Linked DNA regions of Homo sapiens: region 1 is linked to region 2. Evidence: promoter capture Hi-C in 16 types of primary human blood cells and fetal thymus (Javierre and others, 2016). All regions are on one chromosome and are shown on one strand. Each heading gives the region's core, a stretch centred on a gene start or on the middle of the fragment in contact. The rest is flanking DNA. Distances are from core to core; before and after follow the strand shown.

Region 1 (5,242 bases), core at 2,185-4,684, 3.1 Mb after region 2:
AGCCTTGTTACATTAAACCTAACTCACTATAGTCAAAATGACTACATAAGACATCTTAAAATGCAAATCATTAATATCATCTAATAATTATAATTACCGTAATTCCACACAGATTTTCCTTAAAACTTACCAAAACTACCATCCATTGGATAATCAAGAGGGACCAATGGTTTTCTGGGTCCAGGTAAACTAATGGCTGAATTAAAAGCCAGGGCATCTTCACGCTCTATTTTTTGAGATTCAGCTGGCTTCTTCTGAGCTTCTTTTTCTGCTTCATCCACATGAATGGTGAACGCAGGCTGTTTACTGTTTGCTTTCCAAGGAGGAACGGTGACATGCTCATCATTTACAGGAAGATCCTTAAGGGGTGCAACCTAAAAAAAAATTAATAACTGGCTTTGAGCCTACTAGTCTTGCATTCTTTCTCTTATGGGTGTTGGCCTTTGCTTTTTCTCCCAAATACTCTATCAGGAATTAAACTTTCTGGGACAAAGAAGAGTTTCAGTATTCAAAAGAGAAGGGATGTTCCCATTTGTCACAGGCATTCCCACAAAGGCTATCAATAGATAACACTAGGTGGAATTATGCAAAACTTATCAGGGCCACAAGAAGGGTCGGGTGACAGGCCAATACGTGACAAGTTTAGGAAAGACAGCAAAAAAATTGTTGGTTCACCACTGTCGCCCGAGGGTGGAGCAACAGAGCAAATCCGGCTAAAATGGCGGAATTTGCCAAAAGCAAAGTATTTTGTACACGCTTTTCTAAAGTAGAGGTCATCTCTTAAGCGTGAGGAGGATAGGGGTCAGAGTCCTACAGCAGTGCCTGGGGTTTAAAAGTGGAGAGAAAGGCGCGGAGCTGAGCGAAGACTACACGTTTTAGAGCTTGGTTTGACCCCATTATGTACAGGCAGATGCCCCCTATAGAGAGCAGACCGGCAGCATACACACAGTGTTGGCGGGGTCCTGATGCTAATATGGGAGAACTCCTACTGTGGCAAACCACACACCAGCACCAACTGCACTCCAGACCCTGGCCCCCTTCCAAAAGCCCAGGACATGCCTTCTCGCCACTCTTCTCTGCCTGCTAAGCCAATGCCAAACCCTGCTCGACCCACCCTCCTGCAGATATCCCGCATCCCTTTACCCGTCTCGTCTTCGGCCTCTGCTGCTGCGCTAGACCCCGCGGGTTCCCGGACTTCAGTACCGCCAGCGCGGCCCGGGTCCGCGGTTGTTGGACGGGCGCTGCCTTTTCCGGGTTGATATTCTCCTGGTCCTCTTGGAGCGCCGTCTGCTGCAATGCTAGCAGCGCCGAGCCCGCCTCGCGGGTCGCAGGCCCCGGCGCAGAGTTGCCCAACATCACTGCTCCCGGGAGTGGACGGCGGGATCAGCCTGCGGCGCCAAGCAGCGTGCACTCTGCCCAGCCGACCACTCGCACCGACCCGGCCAAAGAATAGTCGTAGCCGCCGGTCGCAGCCCAGGCCAGCCTACCAGCCCGCCCGCTCGCTCACCCAGCTCGAGACCACGCAGGGCCGAGGAGGTTGCGAAAGGCGCAGGCAGGCACTGCCCAGCGTGGCGAGCCAAAGACGCCCAGAGATGCAGCGAGCAGCCCGCCGGAGCGGCGGCTGTTCTTGCAGTTCAAGTATCCCGCGACTATTGAAATGGACCAATGAAAGCGCTCGCGGCCTTGACGTCATTCAAGGCGACAGGGTCGCAGGCGAGTGAAGGGTAAACCAAAGGAAACTGAGCAGGGGCGGGGCAGGAGGGAGAAACAAACTGGCTGGGGCGGGAGAAAACGCCTGCGCGGGGCGGGGAGAGGTAGGATTTAGGGCCCGACGCTTCCGATTATTTTAAGCTGAGCCACCTAGTGAGCGAGGCTGTCCGAAGGCTGACTCTAAGCCTTTTAGGGAATTAAACGGAATTAAACTTTGGCGACTATCATTTGGGTTGCCCAGCCTTTAGCTCTGGGACGTCTAGTTAGCTTAAGTGACTTTTTCCAAAGGTCTAAAATCTGGGGCACGTTTTTCAGTATCTCCGATTCTCCGTTTTCTTATGTGTTAATAGGGACTAATAACTACAGTCATATGGTTGTTAGGATTAAATAATGTGCATAAATTATTTAACACGGAGCTCACATAGTAATACAGTACTCAAGTGTCAAGACTGTAATGTCATCTTAACATTTAGGCGTTTATTCATAGTAACCAGAAATTGTGTTTTATGCTTTTTATTTTTCCTAATGAAGATGCAATTAATTTAAGATGGCACCTTGAACTACTGTTGATATATATAATAAATAGCAGTGCATTACAAAATATTCAAATACAGTCATTAATTTTTTTCTATTTTTCCCCAAGCTGTGGCAACCAACAAAAAACACAATGACGTTCTAGTGACCTAGATATAATTATGTTCCTTTCAGAAGTAAAGTTTTTTAAACATAGTAAAAACAATATGACCTTATTAAAATAAAACTCTCTTAACTATACGTGCCTTTAACAAATTTTTATATTTATATATAAATATAAGAATATACAAAGCTTGCACATAACTAATAAGTATAATAGCATATCATTAAGAAGCACTGTTTTCTAAAAAATTCGTGAGTCTGCCCTTCTTGAAACATAAAGCTTATTTTCCATTATCTGTATGCCATTTTAAAACCTTTCAATATTCCCTTGAAATTAATAAATATGAATTAAGATTAATGCACAAAACTTCTGTAGCCTTAATGTCATATATGATAAAAAGAGATCTAGAAGATACTAGTGTAGGAAAATCTAAGATGGCATCACTATTTCTGCACTCTTCACTTGAAGCACGCTGAATAGCTCCACTGGTTACAGCATGTCTAATTAAGATCCCCCGACTCTGTGTAAGCTCTTCTTATTTCCTGGCTACAATTTATAGCACTGAGCCAAGTCCAGCATTTCCACAAACTGCAGCAGAGTCATAAAACACTACCAAGCAAAAGGAATATCAGTTGCAAATCAATCCTATCTCCTAGAAAAAACAATTGGTAGGTTATTTCCACTAGCTGGCAACATACATAGTAACCAGGACACAAAGCAAGTACCAGTACTTGGGTTCTGGTCCCAGCTTTACAAAATATTAGCATGTCCTCTTAATCACAAAATTTCACTGAGAATCAGTTTTCTTATATGATTTGACAAATTTTACAACAGTTGTGAAGATCAAATAAGGTAATATATAAAAATACATTTTGAAGCCTATAAAGCGGTCTACATGTTTATGTGTTTATGTACCTTGTAATACATTTGAATATATTTTAATTTTCCACATATTACTTCTCAATTTAAAAATTAAAACAGCCACTTGCCAAAAATTCATTAAAATCCTATTTAAATCATTCTACTTGTGTTTTAAAAATAAAAAGACTCTTTTAGTTTTAGAAAGTTCAATTTGTCAAAAGAAATAGAAGCATTACTTTAAAAAGCCATTATATCTCAAATATTTTTAGATATAAAAAAGCATTTGAAATTAAAGTACATACACAGTTAACTTCTAATTCTCTTTTAACATTTTTCATTTAAACAGACCACTTCTTTGGGACTTTACCTTATTTGTATGTCATGCTGCATCGAAGAATGAAATCAATGCATTTTGGTCATAACTGTCCAGAATTTCCAATAGAAGGGGTACTTTAGTTTTTACATTGGTGCCTTTAAACTTAAATTTATCTATGAAAAGATCAGTGATCATGCCTTTAAAGAAAAAACATAAATTTCCTGTCAGTGATTAGTTATATTTAATGACACAGTATTTCACTAAAGTAATTGCTTGATAATCTATTTTTAAGCACCTGTAATTCCATGATTTAACATACACAAACCTAAAAGCCATGTTTTTAAAAATAGTCATTTTGGGGGGATTTTAAAACAAGTTTCAAGATATAAATCATCTGCCTAATAACCCTCTTAACAATTGATTACAAGCTATTAATTCAGACAATCAACTACTGGCCATTTTTGAACTGCTATCAGTATATATAACATCACAACAAGTGGTATATTTTTTCCACCAAGCTGACCATTTTGACATAGTCTAGGCAGATTCTATTTTTAACAGCTTATCTGAATTAAAATATTCCACCTATATGTTGACCATTCTTGGGATTTGACTTGAAGGCAAATAGTCCTAGGTTCAAAGATCTGGGCAAATCATTTCACCTTGAGTTTTCTCATATGTAAAACAGGAATAATTCAAGCTGTCAATCCTTTATCCAAAAAGCTTGATGCAAGATGTATTTCAGAATTTTTCCTATTTTAGGAAGATAATGAAAGGAATATACTATGGTATTAACCCCAAGGGGACTGAGTAGCAGCATCCAATAGCAAAACATAGTACTATTTCTGGCACAAAATATACGGATGAATATTTGCACTAAGTGGAATAAAAAAGATATAACCTTGGGCTGGGCACGGTGGCTCATGCCTGTAATCCCAGCACTTTGGGAGGCTGAGGTGGGCAGATCACGAAGTCAGGGGTTGGAGACCAGCCTGGCCAATATGGTGAAACCCTGTCTCTACTAAAAGTACAAAAAAATTAGCTGGGCATGGTGGCGCACACCTGTAATCGCAGCTACTCAGGAGGCTGAGGCAGGAGAATTGCTTGAACCCAGGGGGCAGAGGCTGCAGTAAGCCGAGATCGCGCCACTGACTCCAGCCTGGGAGACCAAGCGAGACTCTGTCTCAAAAAACAAACAAACAAACAAACAAAAAATATATATAAAACCTCATGTCAGTTTAAGTCAGATTTTGTTATTAAATTAATTCAGATTAAGTCAAGATTTTGCTGTCAAATTATTTATGAAAAAAACTTTGGTTTACAAAGCTGTCTGGATTTTGCAATCAGTGATATTATGTACAGCCAATCTCATAAGTTATTATAAGGATAAAAGAGATCATGTGCTTGTCATGTAATAAAGGTTAAGACATTAAATATAGCTACAGTTTGTGAGAAAGTCTCTGGATATGTAATAAAAAATTCAGTAGGCAGGCTTAAGGATCCATGTGTACTAGTGATACCAATTGGCTCTACAGTGACTATGGAAGGCTTGGCATAGTGTAAAAGGCATGCATTTTGGGGTGAGAAGATTCTAATGCAGGCATGATCACTAACTTGCTAGGTGACAACAAATTCCTTAGACTCAGATTTCAGTTAAAGCATATGAAAAATGAAGATAATACCACCTACCTTGCAGAGCTATTGTAAGGATTAAATAT
Region 2 (5,637 bases), core at 2,919-5,418:
GATTTGGTGGGGACATACATTTAAACTCTATTAGTGAGGTAGCAAATTATTGTATAAAATGCTAAGTGGTTTAGGAATTTATCCCCTTGAACCCAGACATATGCTATCTAATATGGTAGCTACTAGCCAAATACAACTTATTACATTTAATTAATTACAATTAAAGATTCAGTAATCTTTATTTTAAAATAATAATACACTAGCCACATTTTAAGTGTTCTGTAGACACATATGGCCGGTGGCTACCATATTGATTAGTATAGAAATAAATGTTAGTAGGACATTTCTATTATTACAGAAAGTTTTATTGGATAGTGCTGTCCTAGATATTGAGGAAATATAAAAAAATTTTGAGCACAGTTTAAAATGATAAAATTACAATTTTCCACAAATATCTAGGAAAAATTGGATAGACTGGAAAAAGATAAGACAATTAGGATACGAATCAGAATACATGTCATCCACAGGTTGTGGTTATAGAAATGAAGAATGGTATGTGTCAGTGGTGCAACCAGAAGCAGAACTACAGTCACAGAGCAGATATGGAGGCTGAAGGAGAGGTGGAATGCTTCTTGTTTAGGAAAATGGGTGGATATTGACCCTATTTTCTGAAATAGGAAATGCCAGAGGAGTGAAATTGATTTTTTTTAGTGGATGATAAATTTAGGTTTTATTCATGTTGTTTGAGATTGTCTTAGTCCAGTTGTGCTGCTGTAATAAAATACCACAGACTGGGTAATTTATGGAGAACAGAAACGTATTTCTAACAGTTTTGGAGTCTGGGAAGTCCAGGATCAAGTTGCCAGCAGGTTTGTTGTCTGGTGAAGGTCCAGTTTCTGCTTTCAAGATGGCATCTTGAATGCTGCAACCTCCAGAGGGGAGGAATGCTATTCTACATGGTAGAGGGTAGAAGGGCAGAAGAGGAACTCTCTCTGCCAAACCCTTTTTATAAGAGTACCTAATCCCATTCATGAGGGCAGAGCCGGTTATAACTCAATCACCTTCCATACACCACACCTCCCAATATTGTTGTATTGGGGATTAAGTTTCAAAATGAATTTTTGGAGGAGACAAAAACCTACTGCCAGCCTCCACCTCCAAACTGGGGATTGCAATTCAACGTAAGATTGGGCGGGGACTTATATTCGAACTGTATCAGTGAGGCAGCAAAGTATTGTATAAAATGCTAAGTGGTTTAGGTATTTATACTCTCGAACCTAGACATGTGCTGACTAGTACGGTAGCTACTAGCTATGTAAACCATAGAAGAGATTGTGGAGGGCATTCTAGTAAGATGTATAATAGGCAACTAGCTACACAGGCAGTCCCTAACTAACATAAGTTCCACTTACGATTTTTTTTTTTTTTTTTTTTTTTGAGATGCAGTTTCGCTCCTGCTGCCCAGGCTGGAGTGCAATGGCGCCATTTCAGCTCACTGCAGCGTCCGCGTCCCCAGTTCAAGCGATTCGCCTGCCTCAGCCTCCCAAGTAGCTGGGATTACAGGCGCCCAACACCTCGCCTGGCTAATTTTTTTATTTTTAGTAGAGATGGGGTTTCACCATGTTGGCCAGGCTGACCTCCTGATCTCTGTTGATTCGCTGGCCTTGGCCTCCCAAAGTGCTGGGATTACAGGCGTAAGCCACTGCGCCTGGCCCACCTAACGATTTTTTGACTTACAATGGATTTATTGGGACATAGCCCCATCATAAGTTGGGGAGCATCATGAGTTGTAGAGTATAGGTTTGGAGGAGTCAGTCTCCAGGAGCTTGGGGAGAGATGCATAAGTTATAATGTGGATCTCTCTTTACTTCCTTAAATTAAGTGCCTAGAAGTAAATTGCTTCTTCAAAAAGTATGGATTTTATGTGAGGACTTCCGAAATTTCTTCCCCCTCTTCCTGCCACACACACCCCCTAGTGGCCTTTATGTTGTCATAATGAACAGATGTTACTGATGGGCTTGTAAAATTCTCTACAAGTATGCTGATGTGGTCTGGTGTTTTAAAATTCATTAGTTGGGAGAGAGATTTCAAAATTATATCCCCTTCTTTGTACAAACTGCAACAACCCTCTGCCCAACTCCAACAGTTTTGTAAATATTACATGGAAGTACATATCTGCATCAGTACAGTTCCAGGCAGGAAAACAAATAATTAAAAGTATTTTAAACAGACGCCATTCACTATGGAGAAATAGTTAAGCAGATATTGAAGGCTAGAAGAGCAAAAAGGGAGAAGTAAGATTAAATCAGAAATTTTAAACTGCAGGATGGCTACCAGTCCTTGAGCTGGTGGAACAGAAGGTAGAAGTAGTAGTATCATAGCACAAGAGCAAACTCACTCACTGTTAAGGGTGTCACTTTCTTAAGGTAAGGAAAGGAGGGGCTGCTCCAACTGGCTCTAGACTTTGTAAGGGACATAGTCATCGCTCTAGATGCCAGAAGCAGAGAGTAAAATAAATGGACAATAGCTTTCCCATGTTCCACCTTTTGATTTCCTGCCTGTGCCTCCTGTGGGCAGAGTCTTACAGGAAGCCATCTAACAAGGAAGGCTGGGAAATGTAGTTTGTGGACTCCCTGCCTAGCCATCATCTCGAAGCAGAGGGTAGGTGAGTATGGGGTTCAAAGATTACAAGCAAGTAACCTGCATAGCAACTTATCAGGAAAAAGAAAAATCCTCCATTAGACAGTAAACTCATAAAGAAAAACCGACTTTAGTTTTTAATCTTTGACAGACTTTATAGACTCTAGGGCCTATCACAGTGCTTGCCATATAAAATGCTCAATCAATATCAACAGATATTTAAGTGAATAATTGCCTATTCTCACCATTGGTAAAATTTAAATCAGTATTCAACTTAAATGATTGCCAGATAATACAACTGATTTTTAAAGAAATACACTTTAACTCATATGGACATAAATATTTTACAGTATCCAAGTAGTGCTGACATTACTCAAGGAATTGTTTAGGACTACTTGTTCAAAATTGTCTTTCAGACCTAGTTCTTCGGAAATACATTATAATTATTTCTATAAAAGTGGGCATGACTAAGTAGAATCTAGTCTTGCCCACTTTTGGCCCAGCCTGACTCAACTGGTTTTGATCTGGATGACTTAATATTATTTCTGAAAATTAAATCTACTCTGAAAGAACAGACTTATTACTAATTTTGTTAAGTACTTACCGCGATTTCCAATTAAACTTGAGGCAACATGATGTCTTACTCCACTTCCGCCACTGTAGGCTTGAAATAAGATGGCAAGTGTGGTGAATAATAATGGTAATAACTCAAATAAGACTTTGGCCTTTGCTGCCATCCTATGAAGACAGAATCACCACCCCCCAGCCCTCACCCCTCACCCCCGCAATCCGAGTAATTTCAGGAAGCTATTTGTTTCCTTATCCTTGGGTTATTTTCAGTTAAGACAAATGTACAAGCACAAAAAGGAGTCTCTTAGCTTCTGACTCCTAGGACATAAACCAAGACACGCTTTACTATCACATACTCATTTCCCTAAAGGGAAGAAGCCAAAAAATGCATACTATAGTAAAATGGGAAACATTTCAAGGGACAGTAAGGTGTGGGGAAGAGTGGGCAGATGTTGTGGCTGTTACCTGCGTGAAGGTAAATAAAATATTAACAATAACAAGCACTTCTACACCGCTATGTGCAAGGTGCTATTTATCCTTTCAATCACAGCTCTGTGAGGTAGACACTTATGACTCCCATTTTACAGATGACAAAACTGAGGCTCACGAAGGTGGTTAACTAGCCAAGGCCACTCGTCTAGGAAGTGAGAGGCCAAGGTTCAATCCTAGGCAATCTGGCTTAAGTTTGTGTTCTGTTAAAAAAAAAAAAATTAAAGGTTATCTGGCAATTTTTTAAACGTCAGGACTGTCATCTGTGGAATCAATTGAAAAGGGAATCAACACTTCAGAAACTGTAATACACCAAGGGAACCTGCTATCCTGGGAAAGAGAGATAAAGGAGAAGTCAGCTGACTGTCCTCCTTCAGACTAGCTCAGACCACCCCAACCTGCGAGGGCCCTGGAGACCCCTGTGGCGCAACAGATCCCTTACTGGGTCCCTTCCAAGTGGCGTCACATAGCAAGCGTCCAGAAGGAGGCGGGACTTCCGGGCCAAGCGAGCCAATTCCGGCCGCGCCGGAAGTCTCTACTGAGGAAAGCTATGAGGATACTCTGTTCGTAAGCTCCCGGTGAATTTTGTTCCACAGACTCGGAAGAAAGGTTGGATAAGAGTTCACTGGAGATTGACAAGTACTCGGGATAGTGAAAAGCCGGAGTTGGAACATGGATAGCCGCTTGCAGGAGATCCGGGAGCGGCAGAAGTTACGGCGACAGCTCCTCGCGCAGCAGGTCCGCGGCCCTGGTGTCCCCTGTGGGAGGGATCGAGAATGCGAGTGCGCGGCCGCCTCCTCCCTCCACACCCCGCCTTTTTCTGTCCCTTCTCTACCTGCCGCTGTTAAGGCCTTTCTGGTCCTGCGATCTTGATCCCTGGTTCTGCCTTTGTAGTTCTCAATTTTCGCGGTGTCCCGAATGTTTTTCCAGTTCCTTCCGCGGTCTTTGTGGTGCTAAACCGAATGCCAGGATTAGCCTTTAAGCTTTGTGGAACTCCCACCGAGTGTCTGGCATGTTCACGCCAGGATGAGTGTCATGTTATCCCCTACATTTCTCTTCACTATTAAATGGTCATCTATTTCTTTCTTTTCTTCGTCGTCAGCCCCAAATTCTTGAGATTGTGGTTTCATTATGAAATACGTTTACAGTATTTTCTTTGACATCTTTCTGAAGACAACACTGGAAGTAGCCTGAGTGTAAATTTTAGATTCTGCATCTTATATAGAGTATCCTTGTCACATCCACAGTTAATATTTGAAATCTTACTCTGTGTTAGTCACAATAATCTCCTGAAACAGGTATTATTACCTTCACTTATCAAGTAATGAAAAAGGCTCCATACGTTAAGGAATTTTACTCCTGGTCGCTCACTTCTCTGCTGGGAAATAGAACCTAGGTTTGTCTCCCCAAAGCTTGTCTTCTAAACCATTGTCCTTCACTTCTTTCTTGTGTATGAGTAAGTTAACATTTGCTGATTAGTAGAGTGCACATGCAGAAAATACAGATTGTGCACAGTTCTACTTAAAATCGAGGCTGTATTTTCCATTCTACTATTCAGATCAGTAAAAGTGATAGGAGCAATGCTCATAGAGTGTAATTAGTCATCTTGCAGTTATTTTTCAGTAATGAAACTTGGTTTTAGTAAATGGACTTCTGAAACCTATCCTCTTTATGGTCTGATGAACAGATTTGTGGAATATGGCTAAAACCGTGGAAACTTGGAGTCAGATTTGTTCCTTTGTTCCTTATCCCGCTGGCATTACGATCTTGGGCAAATCAAGTATCCTTTCTAAGTCTTCTTTTCGCCAACTTCTTTTATCGTATTATCTTCAAAAATGTTAAGTAGCTCTTTGTTGCTACCACAGAAGACGTTTTACTCCTTAATATTGAATTCAAACTTCTATTTGACTCAATATACATTCATAGGACAATTATTTGTTTAGTGTTTTACACTCAGCAGATGCCAGGGGCTCTACCTTTTAAAGTCTTTTATGAATT

Evidence for each region. The method cuts DNA at HindIII sites, captures the fragments that hold promoters and counts their contacts. A CHiCAGO score of 5 or more calls a contact.
Region 1: a fragment that was not itself captured here is called in contact with the fragment with the promoter of METTL14 in region 2 in 1 of 17 cell types (activated CD4 T cells); the score reaches 5.7 in activated CD4 T cells.

The regions. Positions count from the first base shown.
Region 1 is chr4:121,822,273-121,827,514 of GRCh38, forward strand. BBS7 (Bardet-Biedl syndrome 7) reads right to left here. Exons shown (of 19, transcript NM_176824.3): 19 at 2,057-3,721. The coding sequence ends at 3,588. CCNA2 (cyclin A2) reads right to left here and starts at 1,611. Exons shown (of 8, transcript NM_001237.5): 1 at 1,144-1,611; 2 at 131-374. The coding sequence starts at 1,356. RefSeq lists enhancers at 1,150-1,199, 1,390-1,459. The HindIII fragment of the contact is 1,621 bases long and covers 2,625-4,245 here.
Region 2 is chr4:118,681,224-118,686,860 of GRCh38, forward strand. It overlaps METTL14 (methyltransferase 14, N6-adenosine-methyltransferase non-catalytic subunit), which reads left to right and starts at 4,169. Exons shown (of 11, transcript NM_020961.4): 1 at 4,169-4,377. The coding sequence starts at 4,312. It overlaps METTL14-DT (METTL14 divergent transcript), which reads right to left and starts at 4,118. Exons shown (of 7, transcript NR_125930.1): 1 at 4,082-4,118; 2 at 3,185-3,244. RefSeq lists enhancers at 4,128-4,387, 4,568-4,707. The HindIII fragment of the contact is 9,570 bases long and covers 1-4,620 here.